Regions from separate parts of the Homo sapiens genome. Here region 2 is linked to region 1. The links are contacts of gene promoters, found by promoter capture Hi-C in human tissues and cell types (Jung and others, 2019). All regions are on one chromosome and are shown on one strand. Each heading gives the region's core, a stretch centred on a gene start or on the middle of the fragment in contact. The rest is flanking DNA. Distances are from core to core; before and after follow the strand shown.

Region 1 (7,067 bases), core at 2,512-5,011:
AGAGGAATGAAAAAAATAGACGAATGACCGATCCCAAGTGAGAATGGGACTCCTGTAATATGCTGGGAACAAACTCCTCTGGGCCACTGCTCCTGGCTGATGGGTGCCCAGTGTGTGAGGCAGAGGGGGTAGCAGTGAAAGTGATCTTTGGCAACCACCTTGTCCAGGACCCCTGGCGGCCCTCAGAGAGCCCAGCTGGTGGCCTCTGGGTACCCAGCTCCCCTCCATTCACAAGTCTCAGGCCTGACAGCTGCTCTAATTCTATCATCCTACCCCCATCCAGCCATGTCCTTCCGGCAGTCCAAAGCAGCATACCACCCAGCGGCCAGCCCAGAGAGAAGGGCTTTTCTGTACTGCATGGGGCTAGGCGAAGGCTTGAGCAGAGCAGACAGGCTGTTCCATCTCCCAACAGGCCACAACAGGTGAGCGAATGGCTATCTACTTGAGAGTGGGCATCCCTGAGTCCTGGGGCAGTGATAGTAACCATGCATCCTAGACCAGTTTCACTGGATTCGTCCAGTGGCTGAATCTGCACGGTCTGCTCGACTACTGCTTGATGCTCGATTGACGCTGATGCTGTAGTGAGAAGAAAAGGTGGCCCTTGTCCTTTCCTTTGTATCCAAAACCCTCCCTTCTACCTCCCTGCTTTATTTTACAATGAAGCACAGAAGTCACCTCTTTCAGAAATTCTTCTGGGATCCCCTTCTCTGGGTAGTCCCCATCCCCTCACTCCCACCCTGTGCTTTTCTTTGCCACACTGTGTTGCGAGTGTTGGTGTGCCTGCCTCCACTGCAAAGACTTTGCTTTCCTGGACATCAGGGCCTGTGACATGCTCTGCTGTCCTGTGCCTGCCGTGGTGACCAGCCCGTGAGGGAAGCAGTATGTTCAGGGCAGTGGTTAACTAAAATCCTCCCTCTGCACTTCCCCAAGGTCACACAGCAAGAAATCCTGCAGTGGTTTTCTTATCTGTAAAATGAGGCTTGAAAGGGTGTTGTGAAGATTAAGTCAGCTAATGTAACGTTTGAATAGCATCTGGCATGACAGTAAGCACTTGATGAGTACTGCATTTGCTAGTATTACTAGGTGATCAATAAATGTTTCATGTGTTAATGGATGAAGAAAGGAAGGAAAGAGTGAAGATAATTAGTACAAGCCAGCACATGCCAGATTTGTGGTGACCCAAAATAAAGGTTCGATGTGATCTGTGAGTTCCACAATAGTGAGTGGGGGTAAGGATTATTCTTAAGGAGCAAAGTTCCATGCAGTGTGCCGGGGAGCAGGTCTTGGGCAGTAATGAGAAAGGCAGATGCCATCTGAAGGTCTCCTTTCCTATTGTGAGTCTTTCCTGCAGATTAAGAGTCCTTGAGATTTTTAAAGGCACAACCTGACATTTCTCTGCAACAATGGTGTTTTCTCCCATTAGTGGTCCTTCCAAGGCCACTCCCTGCTGACTACCCCCTCTTTCCCATCATTCCAAACAGCAGACTCAGATACCAATCCTGACTGCCTTCAGATGAATAGACAAGGTGGGGGGATGAGTCATCCAGGCTCCAGATGCCTATTCCCAGACATGGGCATCCCTTCAACTACAATCCTAACAGACCTCAGCTATCTTGTTTCTGCACAGACTACCAGCAGAGAAGCTGGCAGAAAGCAGGACTGTGGGCTTCAACATCAGAAGGCCCAGGGCTCAAGTCTCATCTCTTACAAGTCTCTTCCTCTGTCTGAGCCTCAGTCACTGCATAACATGGGGTTACTTATCCCTCCCTCACTGTGCTGTGCTGTAAGATGACTAGCACAGTGCTGGACACACAGCAGACCAGCGGTAAAGACCCTTGGTAAATGGTGGGAGGTGGTGGGTGAGGACCCCATCAATAAGCAAGGTGGCTCCTGGGATGAACATAAGCCACTTCTGAACCCAAGACTATAAAGGGAGAACAAGAGTACCTTGACCTCCCAGCAACCAGATAATGTTGATGGAGGCCTGGGGCTGGCCTTCCGGCATCTGCTGTGGCAGTACTAATTGGGATGTCCTGGGTCAGGAGTTTCCCACCCTTGTGGAAGGGAGCTCTTGGCCCTCCCTCTTCCCCCACTGCTGTTTCCTCTGGTCTGGGCTGGAGGGGCCCTGACTTACTGAATAGGTGTCAGCTGCAAAGTTCAAAGAATGCTCAGTAGGCATTGGATGACAGGGTGGGGCAGGGGATGGCCAGGAGCCAAATCCCAGCTCTGGGGCAAGGATGGGCAGATCAGGGGGCTTCCAGCAGAGATCAAGGGGCCCCCAGCTTCCTGGAGTGACTTCACACTAAGTCATACTGAAAGTTTACACTTCAAAGGGGTTACCTGTGTTTCTTTTTTCTTTCCTCCTTTCTTTTCTTTTACCCTCCACCAGCCCAGTCAGCCAGAGAACGGCATCAACAGACATGCTTTGAACTCCAGACCCTCCCTAGCTGTGCTACTCTGGACATGTTACTTCATCTCTTTGAGACTGTTTCTTCATCTGTAAAATGGGCATATTCATATCTCCCTCAAAGGCTGTGTGAGGCTTAGGTGAAGTCATGTGCATAAAGCACCGGGCAGAGTGCCTGAACGCAGTGGAGACACAGCACATGGCAGCCTTCATAACCATCACCTTCCAGTGTAGATAGAGCAGGATGCTTCATGAGTTGGTGCTGCCCACCATGGGGGCTGAGAGTGGGAAGAGTTTTCAGTCCCTCAGGCCCTTGCCCCCTCTCGGATGAACTAGCCCAGCCCTTGGTCAGGCCCCCTGGGCAGGAGACACCAGGTGGACGCGAATCCTCACCATGCACTTGCGGTCATCTATGCCTGTCAGATCCTCCTCAAACTCCTTCCCAACCTGGAAGTCCATGATGTAGTTCCTAAAAGTGCTCAGCGTGCGGATGATCATATGGTCACCGTCCTGCACGATCTCTTTGTCTGGCTTCAGCAAGTTGGCGATTTTGCGCAAGGCCACATTGACGTCTGCGGTGGGGGTTGAACGGGGAGAGAGAGAGCGCCAGAGAGTTGGCAGGGAAACTCAGAGAACCGTTCCCAAGGTAGCGGGGCCCCAGGAGCCCTCTCCGCCCGCGAACACTGTTAGGGTTCCCGCTGGCTTTGCGTTGTCTCTGCGCACAGCCTGCCTGTGCCTCCCCTGCCGCCCCCAACAAAGTTTTCTGCTCTTATGTTAACCGTTTAAAAACAAAAAGTAGCAAACCAAGCCCCAGATTTACTAATGAAATTACCCACCTCCAGGGCCAACGAGCAGACATTTGCCACCGGTTAACCTAACAACCCCGAATTCTCCAATCTGCAGCCTGGGGGCTGCCCTGGGAGCGGTGGCCGAGGACGCCCTTTCTGGCGTCCGGGGGCACCGGACCGCGGCTCGCCGGGATGGAGGCAGGCAGGCAGCGTCTCGGGAGGGCTCTAGGGAGCGGCCCGGAGCTGCTCGGCGGGGCGCCCAGGGCGCAGCGGGCAGCGCTTACCGAGGGCGCGCAGGTACTCCTCGAAATTCTCGTTGACCAACATCTTCCAGTACCCAGTGAAGTCGACTGGCATTTCGGGGAGTGACTGGAGCCAGTTGGCCACAAGCGGGCGGGACGGCTGGAGACTGCCGGGACAGCGGCTGCCGGTGCTACGCGGGTGGTGGGCGGCCCGGAAATGAGCGCCCTCCGGGGACAGGGGGCTCTGCGGGGCGGCGACAGCTGGATTCCCAGCGCGCACAAAGCCTGCGGGAGGATCCATTGTAGCGGTCGCTCCTCCCCGCTTAGCGAGGGCGGGCGCAGGGGCGGGGGATGTCGAAGGGTCAGGTTTGTCCAGGCCGCGCCACCTTCGTTTCAGACGTTCAGTTCGTTTCCCCTACAAAGGAAGAGGAGACCGGAGACGGGACGTTTGCTTTGTTGGCCGAACTCTTCGGCTGCTGGGGATTTCCTTCAAACGCCATTAACTTCTCACACTCAGCAGCCACTCGGGAGTTGGGAAACAATCTCCTGGGGTTTGTGCTGGCGTGATTAAGGAAAGAGGCCACTTACAGGCCTTTGTCTAAAGCCTCGCGCCGGTGGTGGCTGGGGTCAGGAAAGCTGGGAGGTTCAACTACGGGCGAGAAAATTGGGGCACTTTCCACGTCTCTCCCGAAAATAAAAGAAAGGATGCCGGGCACGGCGGCTCACGCCTGTAATCCCAGCACTTTGGGAGGCCGAGGCGGGCGGATCACCTGAGGTCAGGAATTCGACACCAGCCTGGGCAACACGGTAAAACCTCGTCTCTACTAAAAATACAAAAAATTAGCCGGGCGTGGTCGCGGGCGCCTGTAGTCCCAACTACTCGGGAGGCTGAGGCAGGAGAATAGCTTGAACCCGGGAGGAGGAGGTTGTAGTGAGCCGAGATCGTGCCACTACACTCCAGCCTGGGCGACAGAGTGAGACTCTGGCTCAATAAATAAATAAATAAATAAGTAAAATAGTTGATGTTATTTGAAGTGCATGTGGCTAAAAAAGCCTTCTGGGTGATTCTGATGCACAATCAACTTTGAGATCCACTGCTGCTTTATGCAAATGTAAGCAATATACTGTTTATTAATGTTTCCTCCCGTTTCACCTAATGGCAGCACTGTACTCCACGGTGTTCTGGACTTTGCTTTATTCACTTAATATATTCTGGAGACTTTTCCATAGCTGTACATAGAAAGTATCCCCATTATTTTACGGAGTATTCCATTGCTTATCCAGCTTGTCCCCTGATGGACAAACTATATTGTTTCTGATCTTTCACTATTAAAAGCAGTACTGCAATGAAAATCTTTGATCACATCTCCTTTGTCACCTGCGTGGGTATGTCATTGTGGTTTAACTGCATTTGCCACCAAGTAGATGACATAATCACATGGGCTGACTTTTTGACCCTCTTTTTGACTACCTCTTTTAAATCGCTTTTTGCACAAATCACAGCCTAAGTGACAGCAGATAACATTTTCTTCCCCTCTAGCACCACCTTCCCCAGGGTGCCTCCCTGGGGCTCACATGTGTTCTCACAGTGCAGGCTGAATTAGGAAAAGGAGCCTCTTCCTCAGGGTAGAGACAGCTTCCTCCCAGGCAGCAACTTGGATTTCAGCGCTTCTCACCCTCTTTCCCTAGACTAGGATTTGTTTCTTAATCTCTGTGCTACTGACATTCTAGGCCACATAAGTCTTTGTTACAGGAGCCTGTCCTGTGTACTGTAGGATATTTAGTGGCATCCCTGGCCTCTACCCATTAGATCCCAGTGGCACCCAGACACAAAGATGTCGCCAGACATTGTCAAAGGCACTGGGGTGTGGGTGCTGGGTAAACCAGCCCTGGTTGAGAGCCAGCTCTAGGCCCTTGTTTCCCACTGCTTCTTTGTCTGGCTCTGGATGGTTAGGTCATCAGTTGTTCACACAAGCACTGGCTCTGTGTCCCTCCCTAGCCAGCCCAGGGCTCATCTTGGCTGGGCACTCAGGGCAACCTATCCCAGTCCTTCCAACCTGAAGGTGCAATAAGACACCTCGCAAGGATGGATGGGGCCTGGCCCAGGTTCTGTAAGGCATCCCACCAGGGCCAGCCATGCTTTGGGCTTTCTTGTTATCCTGACTTACCAGAATGGAGCATTGGTCAAAGGCTTAAGCAGTGAACTGGCCATTCCTTGGTCACTTCCAACTAGTCTAAACTCTTCTCCCTGCTCTCTGATGCCTCCAGCCCAGCTAGCCGGATTTCTCATCCTCCCCAAACTTCTCCCTTTATGCTGAATCACCTGAGATGGTTTATGCCAAATGCTCAGCACAGTGCCTGGCACACAGCAGAGGCCAGTCTGTTCTGACTCCCTGCCATGCTTGGAATGGCCCTTTCGTGCTCGAGGCAGAGGCCTGCCCACCTCTCCAGTCCTTCTTGTCCATCCCAAAGAACCACAAGCTTGCCACTCCTCCCTCTTCTGACCACGTTGGATAACTTCTGCTCACCTGATCTCACTTTTCTGACCTGGTCAGCTGAACATATAGCACTTAATTCAGCTAGTTTCACTCAGTTTCTGTCTGTCCACCTCTTTGTCTAGTCTTCCAAATGGGTCAGTACGCTCCTGCCCTTCTGGGTCTCCTCCCAGGCACAGCCCCTGGTGGCTGTGCTATTTCTTGCAGCAAAGGGTAGGCTGCATGTGTAGGCTTTAGAGGCAGAATGCCTGTTCTTGCTAGCTGGGTCACTGTCTACCAGAGTGATTTGGGGTAAGATACTTGATCTCTTTGTGGCTTAGTCACCACATCTGTGAAATGGGGACACTCTGACTACCTCTCAGGGTGCTGAGAAGCAAAGGATGAGGAATCTACAGGGCGTGGCACTGAGTACTGTTCCAGATCCACTGCTGTTTGAGCCAGAGGGGCCCTAGAAGGGAGGGAAAAGACAAGGGAGAGCCTGGGTGCTGGTTTGTGCCCCTCTTCTGGGGCTTTAAGATCAGTCTAATGAGTTGAAATGGGAAATGCTCTTCAGAAGCATCAGCTACCATCAAAGTTATCCTTCCTCAGCCCATGCTGTTGTGCTTGATTTAATCCATTTGGTTCTCGATTTGGAAACAAAAAGTATTTTTTGGAGCTCCTTTCTGTCTGGGTTAATCTTCCTTGGAATGTGTGAAGCAAAGAAAGAGTAACTGAACACAGTATGTAAAGAAGAAGGAGGGTGTCTGTGTGGGCTTGCAATCAGTGAGGGCTCCCTGGACGGGGTGAGGCTCTAGCTGGAGCTTGAGGACAGCCAGGATCAGAGAGATGAGGAGGAGGAAGGATAGTCCAGGTGACCAAGGAGACAGGTGAGCAATGGAGTGCCAGAGTGCCAAAGCAACGGCCAACTTGTAAATGACTGAGAGAAAGAGATGTCAGTATACTCAGGCACCTCTAATGGGGTTCGCTTTATTCAATAGCTTTAAAGAAGAGCAGCAGAGATCTACAACCAATTCTTGGGGGCTCAAATTGCTCCCAAGGCCACAAAGAAGAGCCAGACCAGTGGGAAACCACCCTGGCCTGTGTATAGAGTGAGTTAGACAGGCACAAAGAACAATTTTATGTTGGGGAGGAGAGG
Region 2 (7,067 bases), core at 1,840-4,339, 50 kb after region 1:
GTGAGGTGAGGTGGAAGAATGGGCAGAAGGGCAGAGAAAAGCCTGATAGACAATGTCTGTGGTGACAGTTTAGACAGGTATTAGGCCTGCTCCCTATACTCTCATACCCTGCAGAGATAAACCTAATTTGTATTGGGGTTTGGGAGGGCATAGTTAAGATGCCCAGTTAAATCTGACAATGTTAGAGCAGTGGAGTTTATATTTTGCTTCCCATCTGGAATTCTGGAAGACCACCTTGCATTGCCCTGTGCCAATACACAACGGCACTGACAGAATAGAAATGGCATGTGGCGTGTATAGCAGAGAGAGCTTCAGAACAGCCTCCTTCAGCTTTGGCAAGGTATGGCACAGATCCACAGCAATTCTAAGTCTCCTTGAGAGGAATAGTGAAGGAGGCTGAGAATTAGCAGTCAGCAGGTGCCTGGGCTACTAGCGGGTAGATACAGGGTATAGGGAGTACAGTCCAAAGCCAGGGACTATGGCATTGACAGTACCATGGGGAGCCAAGGCACAGGTCCAGACAACAGGGATATAATGCCTGAGACAAGAGAAGCTGAGGAGGCTTCAATAGTGGAGCGAGAGTGGATAGATGCCAGTGCCTAAGATTAAGGACAGATCCCTCGGCTAGAAAGTAGTGAGGGCAGCTGCCCTGTTTTGGAAGCCAGGATGCTAAGCCATCCAGGATGCTTAATGCACTCTTGGGGAGGTAGGCAGGAAAAAATGCACTTGATTAATAACTAACCTGTAAAAGACTAAGCTGAAAATTAAAAAGTTTACCACTTCAGGAATCCCTTGAAGTGACATATTTTTTCACAATTCATGGAAATGGTGGCTTAAGATCAAGTTGAATGTTATAGAAAGCAAAGTAAGTTATCTTTCTGCGCATCTGAGCTCATGTTATACATGGGACATACATGCTCCTTCTTTTTCTCTTCCTGTTTAAAAGAAATGGGGGTTGGGAGGACTAACTCCTGCTGGGTGCTGACTTTCTTGAGCAATTTACATACATTTAACCTTCACATTAATTTCTGTTTTATAGAAGAAAATGGTGGAAGGACAGGGCTCTCTCCAGGCAGCTCTGCTGGGCATGTTGGATACCCAGGTGTCACCTGTGATGGTTTAGCTCATCTTGATAGGACAGGCCCTGCATTGAGAAATCAATGCTTTTTTATAGCACCCAGGAGAGGAGAGTCAATAAAAATAACAATTTGATCTAAAACTCCTTCTTGCCCTCCAAATGGTCATAAGTCCAAGCCTTTTCCCTTCCCCACTGCTCTAGGTCACAATCCCAGTGACCCTCTCAGGCCCTCCCCCACTAGATGCAGATACTTCTCCTGTGACCCTCTGCTGCTCAGACACATCTCCATTACAGCACCTGTATGAAAATGATTCATCTGCCTGTGCCTTTCCCATGACACTGAGCGCTCCTTAAGGACGTGAACTTGTCTTTTCGTTCTGGGTAACACGACGAGCACATTAGTTAGAATGAAGATATACCATCCCTACAGACAGAATTCCTTGTTTATCTCTACCCTCTCTGAAAACTAAGAAAATGATAATAAAGGAATAAATAAAGTATGAAATCATAAGGGCAAAGAGAGTGCAAAAGGAGACAATAGTTGGGAAAATGCAAAACATTTTGGACACTGGAGAGCTGATAAAAATTGATAATAAACCAAGCAGAGTCTTCTGCATGCAGGGAAGGCAGTAAGAGGCAAGCTGTGCAGTAGCAGAGGCCCAGAGTGGCTCAGGAATCGGAGGAGCCAAGAACCTCTCCAGGTGGGGGTGCCAGAGGGCCTGAAAACAGGAGGGCCAGTTGAGAGTTTGTATGAAGAGTCCTTGGATCCACCCCAGCCTCTAATCGCCTACGTTATCCTCCCATTGTGGCAGAAGGGCGCATATCTACTTTCTGCCTGGGTTGGACCAGAGAGAACCTTTATTCTCAAATATAGGCACAGCTGAGGGAGGGGAAGTAACATCTTTAAGACAGAAGGATTAAGTATGTTTCCCAGAATGTCTCTCTGGGGAACAGACCTACCTAGGAAAAGACACCAACACCTACACACATTTGGGGGTCTTGAACCTAGGGCCTGACCATATAACCATGAGGTCTATCAGCTTTACATTCACATCCAGAGCTTCTAGCCTGCATTTAGGGCCTGATCTGCAAACATGAGTGGACAGTCTAGGAAGAGACAAATTTTGGAAAGGTGCTCACCATGAAAGACAGAGACTAAAACAGCCACCAGGAGCAAAGGAACTTGGAGGATACAAAGGCAATGCAGAAATTGTATGCAGGATTTGCAGGAATTGTATGCAGGAATTGTAAAATAGAAGAAAAGACTAGAGGTTTAATATAGGAGGTACACAGTGAACTAATAGAAATTTCTGAAAGAGAACAGGAAAACAGAAGAAATTATCAAATAAATAAGACATTCTATTTTCCCAGACTAGAAGGACATACATTTTCAGAATCAATGGTCCTCTGAGAATCAACATTTGGCATAAAAGAAGATTCACACAATGGCAAAACATTATAAGATTTTAGATGAGTAGGTTTAAAGAGAAGGTCCTGAAAGTTTCAAAAGAGAAAACCAGAGGTTTAACATACAGAACTGGAAAGCAGGATAGCATTGGATTTCTCAACAGCAAGTCTTGAATCCAGGAGACAGTGGAGTGAAGTCTTCAAAATGTTAAAGGAAAATCATTTCCAACCTTAATTCTACATTTGGCCAAACTACCAATCAATTAGAACAGGTGTCAGCAGGCTTTTTCCATTATTGGACAGATAGTAAATAGTTTAGGCTTTGCAGGCCACATACAGTTTTTATGGGCCACATACAAGCTTTGTTGCATAATTTTAAAAGCCATTTAAAAAATGTAAGCAAACCATCCCATAGCTCACAACATGAATGAAAATAGGCTATGGATCAGATTTGGCCCATGGGCTGTAGTTTACTGCCCTCTGAAGTATGGCATGAAGTTGTGTTCATACATGCTAGGTCTCAGAAAATTTACCTCCTCTATACCCTTTCTCACAAAGATGCCAGAAGACGAACTCCACCACCCAAATAAGAGAGTAAACCCAAAAGCAGAAGGCATGGGATCCAAGAAACAGGGGTTTTGAATCAGGAAACAGGCACAGAGAATCCCCAGGGAGACAGTGAAAGGCAATCCCAGGATGACAGTATAGTGGGTACAGAGAGCTGGATGTCCAGCTAGGACCTGGAGGGCTTCAGGAGGGATATGGGCAGACACAAAACGGAACAGACAGATCATCTGATGAATTTGTCTGTACTAAGAAGAGTTTTAGAGATCTTTTGGTAAAATTGGGACTGAATTAATGATAGGCATAGGAAACTAAGGCAACAAATACATGAACAATTACTAACTCTAGGAAAAAACCCAAAGTTTATATGGGAGGCAGTGGAATCATAGTGCACTGCATGGTTTTCTTGACACTATTTACATAGACATAAATGTGAACAATAATATGAATCAAACCCAAAGTTATGAGCTAATCAATTTGGGAGCATGTGGTGGAGGCGAGGTGTGAATGGGAGGGTGGAGGTGTGAGAGAGTGAAATCTTCATTTTTCCTGAAGGAAGCCAAGATATATTATCTAAATCTGAAAAAACAAGATATAACAGTATAAGCTTGTTATTTAGAAATGGGGAGTCAAGTACCAGAGAAAACATCTGAAAGAGTCATAAGTGATTGCTCTGGGAACCAGGAATCAGAAATGAGGATGGAACAAATAACACTATAAGCCTTAGAGTAACAACTTTTATTATCTAATAAATTTATAAATATGATATATAAAATAAGCTTAAAAATTAATGCGTGCTGTAGAAATATTACAGTCTACTGAAAAGTGTGAAGGATAAAAAGTTAATAAAACGTATCTAAGATGTTAATATGGTTTATATTATAGTTCATTTTGTATTTTTTTATACTTTTCTTCAAACCACGTAAATTCACTTTTAATTCTTCTTTATTTAGATTATATCATAAGGGTTTTTCTTGGTCATTAGCACTCTTGAAAACATCACTTTTAATAGCTGCATAATGATATAGATTAAAAATATATAAAAAAAGAATTTACTCAGAGGAGGAGCCAAGATGGCCGAATAGGAACAGCTCCGGTCTACAGCTCCCAGTGAGAGCGACACAGAAGACGGGTGATTTCTGCATTTCCATCTGAGGTACCGGGTTCATCTCACTAGGGAGTGCCAGACAGTGGGCGCAGGCCAGTGTGTGTGCGCACCGTGCGCGAGCCGAAGCAGGGCGAGGCATTGCCTCACCTGGGAAGCGCAAGGGGTCAGGGAGTTCCCTTTCCGAGTCAAAGAAAGGGGTGACGGACGCACCTGGAAAATCGGGTCACTCCCACCCGAATATTGCGCTTTTCAGACCGGCTTAAGAAACGGCGCACGACGAGACTATATCCCACACCTGGCTCAGAGGGTCCTACGCCCACGGAATCGCGCTGATTGCTAGCACAGCAGTCTGAGATCAAACTGCAAGGCGGCAACGAGGCTCGGGAAGGGGCGCCCGCCATTGCCCAGGCTTGCTTAGGTAAACAAAGCAGCCGGGAAGCTCGAACTGGGTGGAGCCCACCACAGCTCAAGGAGGCCTGCCTGCCTCTGTAGGCTCCACCTCTGGGGGCAGGGTACAGACAAACAAAAAGACAGCAGTAACCTCTGCAGACTTAAATGTCCCTGTCTGACAGCTTTGAAGAGAGCAGTGGTTCTCCCACCACGCAGCTGGAGATCTGAGAACGGGCAGACTGCCTCCTTAAGTGGGTCCCTGACCCCTGACCCCCGAGCAGCCTAACTGGGAGGCACCCCCCAGCAGGGGCAGACTGACACCTCACAAGGCCGGGTACTCCAACAGACCTGCAGCTGAGGGTCCTGTCTGTTAGAAGGAAAACTAACAAACAGAAAGGACATCCACACCAAAAACCCATCTGTACTTCACCATCATCAAAGACCAAAAGTAGATAAAACCACAAAGATGGGGAAAAAACAGAGCAGAAAAACTGGAAACTCTAAAAATCAGAGCGCCTCTCCTCCTCCAAAGGAACGCAGTTCCTCACCAGCAATGGAACAAAGCTGGATGGAGAATGACTTTGACGAGCTGAGAGAAGAAGGCTTCAGACAATCAAATTACTCCAAGCTACGGGAGGAAATTCAAACCAAAGGCAAAGAAGTTGAAAACTTTGAAAAAAATTTAGAAGAATGTATAACTAGACTAACCAATACAGAGAAGTGCTTAAAGGAGCTGATGGAGCTGAAAACCAAGGCTCGAGAACTATGTGAAGAATGCAGAAGCCTCAGGAGCCGATGCGATCAAGTGGAAGAAAGGGTATCAGCGATGGAAGATGAAATGAATGAAATGAAGTGAGAAGGGAAGTTTAGAGAAAAAAGAATAAAAAGAAATGAGCAAAGTGTCCAAGAAATATGGGACTATGTGAAAAGACCAAATCTACGTCTGATTGGTGTACCTGAAAGTGACGGGGAGAATGGAACCAAGTTGGAAAACACTCTGCAGGATATTATCCAGGAGAACTTCCCCAATCTAGCAAGGCAGGCCAACATTCAAATTCAGGAAATACAGAGAACTCCACAAAGATACTCCTCGAGAAGAGCAACTCCAAGACACATAATTGTCAGATTCACCAAAGTTGAAATGAAGGAAAAAATGTTAAGGGCAGCCAGAGAGAAAGGTTGGGTTACCCTCAAAGGGAAGCCCATCAGACTAACAGCAGATCTCTCAGCAGAAACTCTACAAGCCAGAAGAGAGTGGGGGCCAATATTCAACATTCTTAAAGAAAAGAATTTTCAACCCAGAATTTCATATCCAGCCAAACTAAGCTTCATAAGTGAAGGAGAAATAAAATCCTTTACAGACAAGCAAATGCTGAGAGATTTTGTCACTACCAGGCCTGCCCTAAAAGAGCTCCTGAAGGAAGCACTAAACATGGAAAGGAACAACGGGTACCAGCCACTGCAAAATCATGCCAAAATATAAAGACCATTGAGACTAGGAGGAAACTGCATCAACTAACGAGCAAAATAACCAGCTAACATCATAATGACAGGATCAAATTCACACATAACAATATTAACTTTAAATGTAAATGGACTAAATGCTCCAATTAAAAGACACAGACTGGCAAATTGGATAAAGAGTCAAGACCCATCAATGTGCTGTATTCAGGAAACCCATCTCATGTGCAGAGACACACATAGGCTCAAAATAAAAGGATGGAGGAAGATCTACCAAGCAAATGGAAAACAAAAAAAGGCAGGGGTTGCAATCCTAGTCTCTGACAAAACAGACTTTAAACCAACAAAGATCAAAAGAGACAAAGAAGGCCATTACATCATGGTAAAGGGATCAACAAGAAGAGCTAACTATCCTAAATATGTATGCACCCAATACAGGAGCACCCAGATTCATAAAGTCCTTAGTGACCTACAAAGAGACTTAGACTCCCACACAATAATAATGGGAGACTTTAACACCCCACTGTCAACATTAGACAGATCAACGAGACAGAAAGTTAACAAGGATACCCAGGAATTGAACTCAGCTCTGCACCAAGCGGACCTAATAGACATCTACAGAAGTCTCTACCCCAAATCAACAGAATATACATTTTTTTCAGCACCACACCCCACCTATTCCAACATTGACCACATAGTTGGAAGTAAAGCACTCCTCAGCAAATGTAAAATAACAGAAATTATAACAAACTATCTCTCAGACCACAGTGCAATCAAACTAGAACTCAGGATTAAGAATCTCACTCAAAACCGCTCAACTACATGGAAACTGAACAACCTGCTCCTGAATGACTACTGGGTACATAACGAAATGAAGGCAGAAATAAAGATGTTCTTTGAAACCAATGAGAACAAAGACACAACATACCAGAATCTCTGGGACACATTCAAAGCAGTGTGTAGAGGGAAATTTATAGCACTAAATGCCCACAAGAGAAAGCAGGAAAGATCCAAAATTGACACCCTAACATCACAATTAAAAGAACTAGAAAAGCAAGA

Evidence for each region. Contacts are between HindIII fragments. The study calls those that stand out against the background at their distance.
Region 2: a contact is called between a fragment that was not itself captured here and the fragment with the promoter of RBP1 in region 1, in 1 of the 25 tissues and cell types used here (spleen).

The regions. Positions count from the first base shown.
Region 1 is chr3:139,535,981-139,543,047 of GRCh38, forward strand. It overlaps RBP1 (retinol binding protein 1), which reads right to left and starts at 3,762. Exons shown (of 4, transcript NM_002899.5): 1 at 3,480-3,762; 2 at 2,801-2,979. The coding sequence starts at 3,738. All of the region lies in intron 3 of COPB2-DT (COPB2 divergent transcript), which reads left to right. RefSeq lists an enhancer at 1,638-2,837. The HindIII fragment of the contact is 8,428 bases long and covers 1-7,067 here.
Region 2 is chr3:139,586,849-139,593,915 of GRCh38, forward strand. The region is part of intron 4 of NMNAT3 (nicotinamide nucleotide adenylyltransferase 3); the gene reads right to left. Among named protein-coding and RNA genes, the nearest start is that of RBP1, 51 kb to the left of the region's middle. RefSeq lists an enhancer at 1-76. The HindIII fragment of the contact is 3,521 bases long and covers 1,330-4,850 here.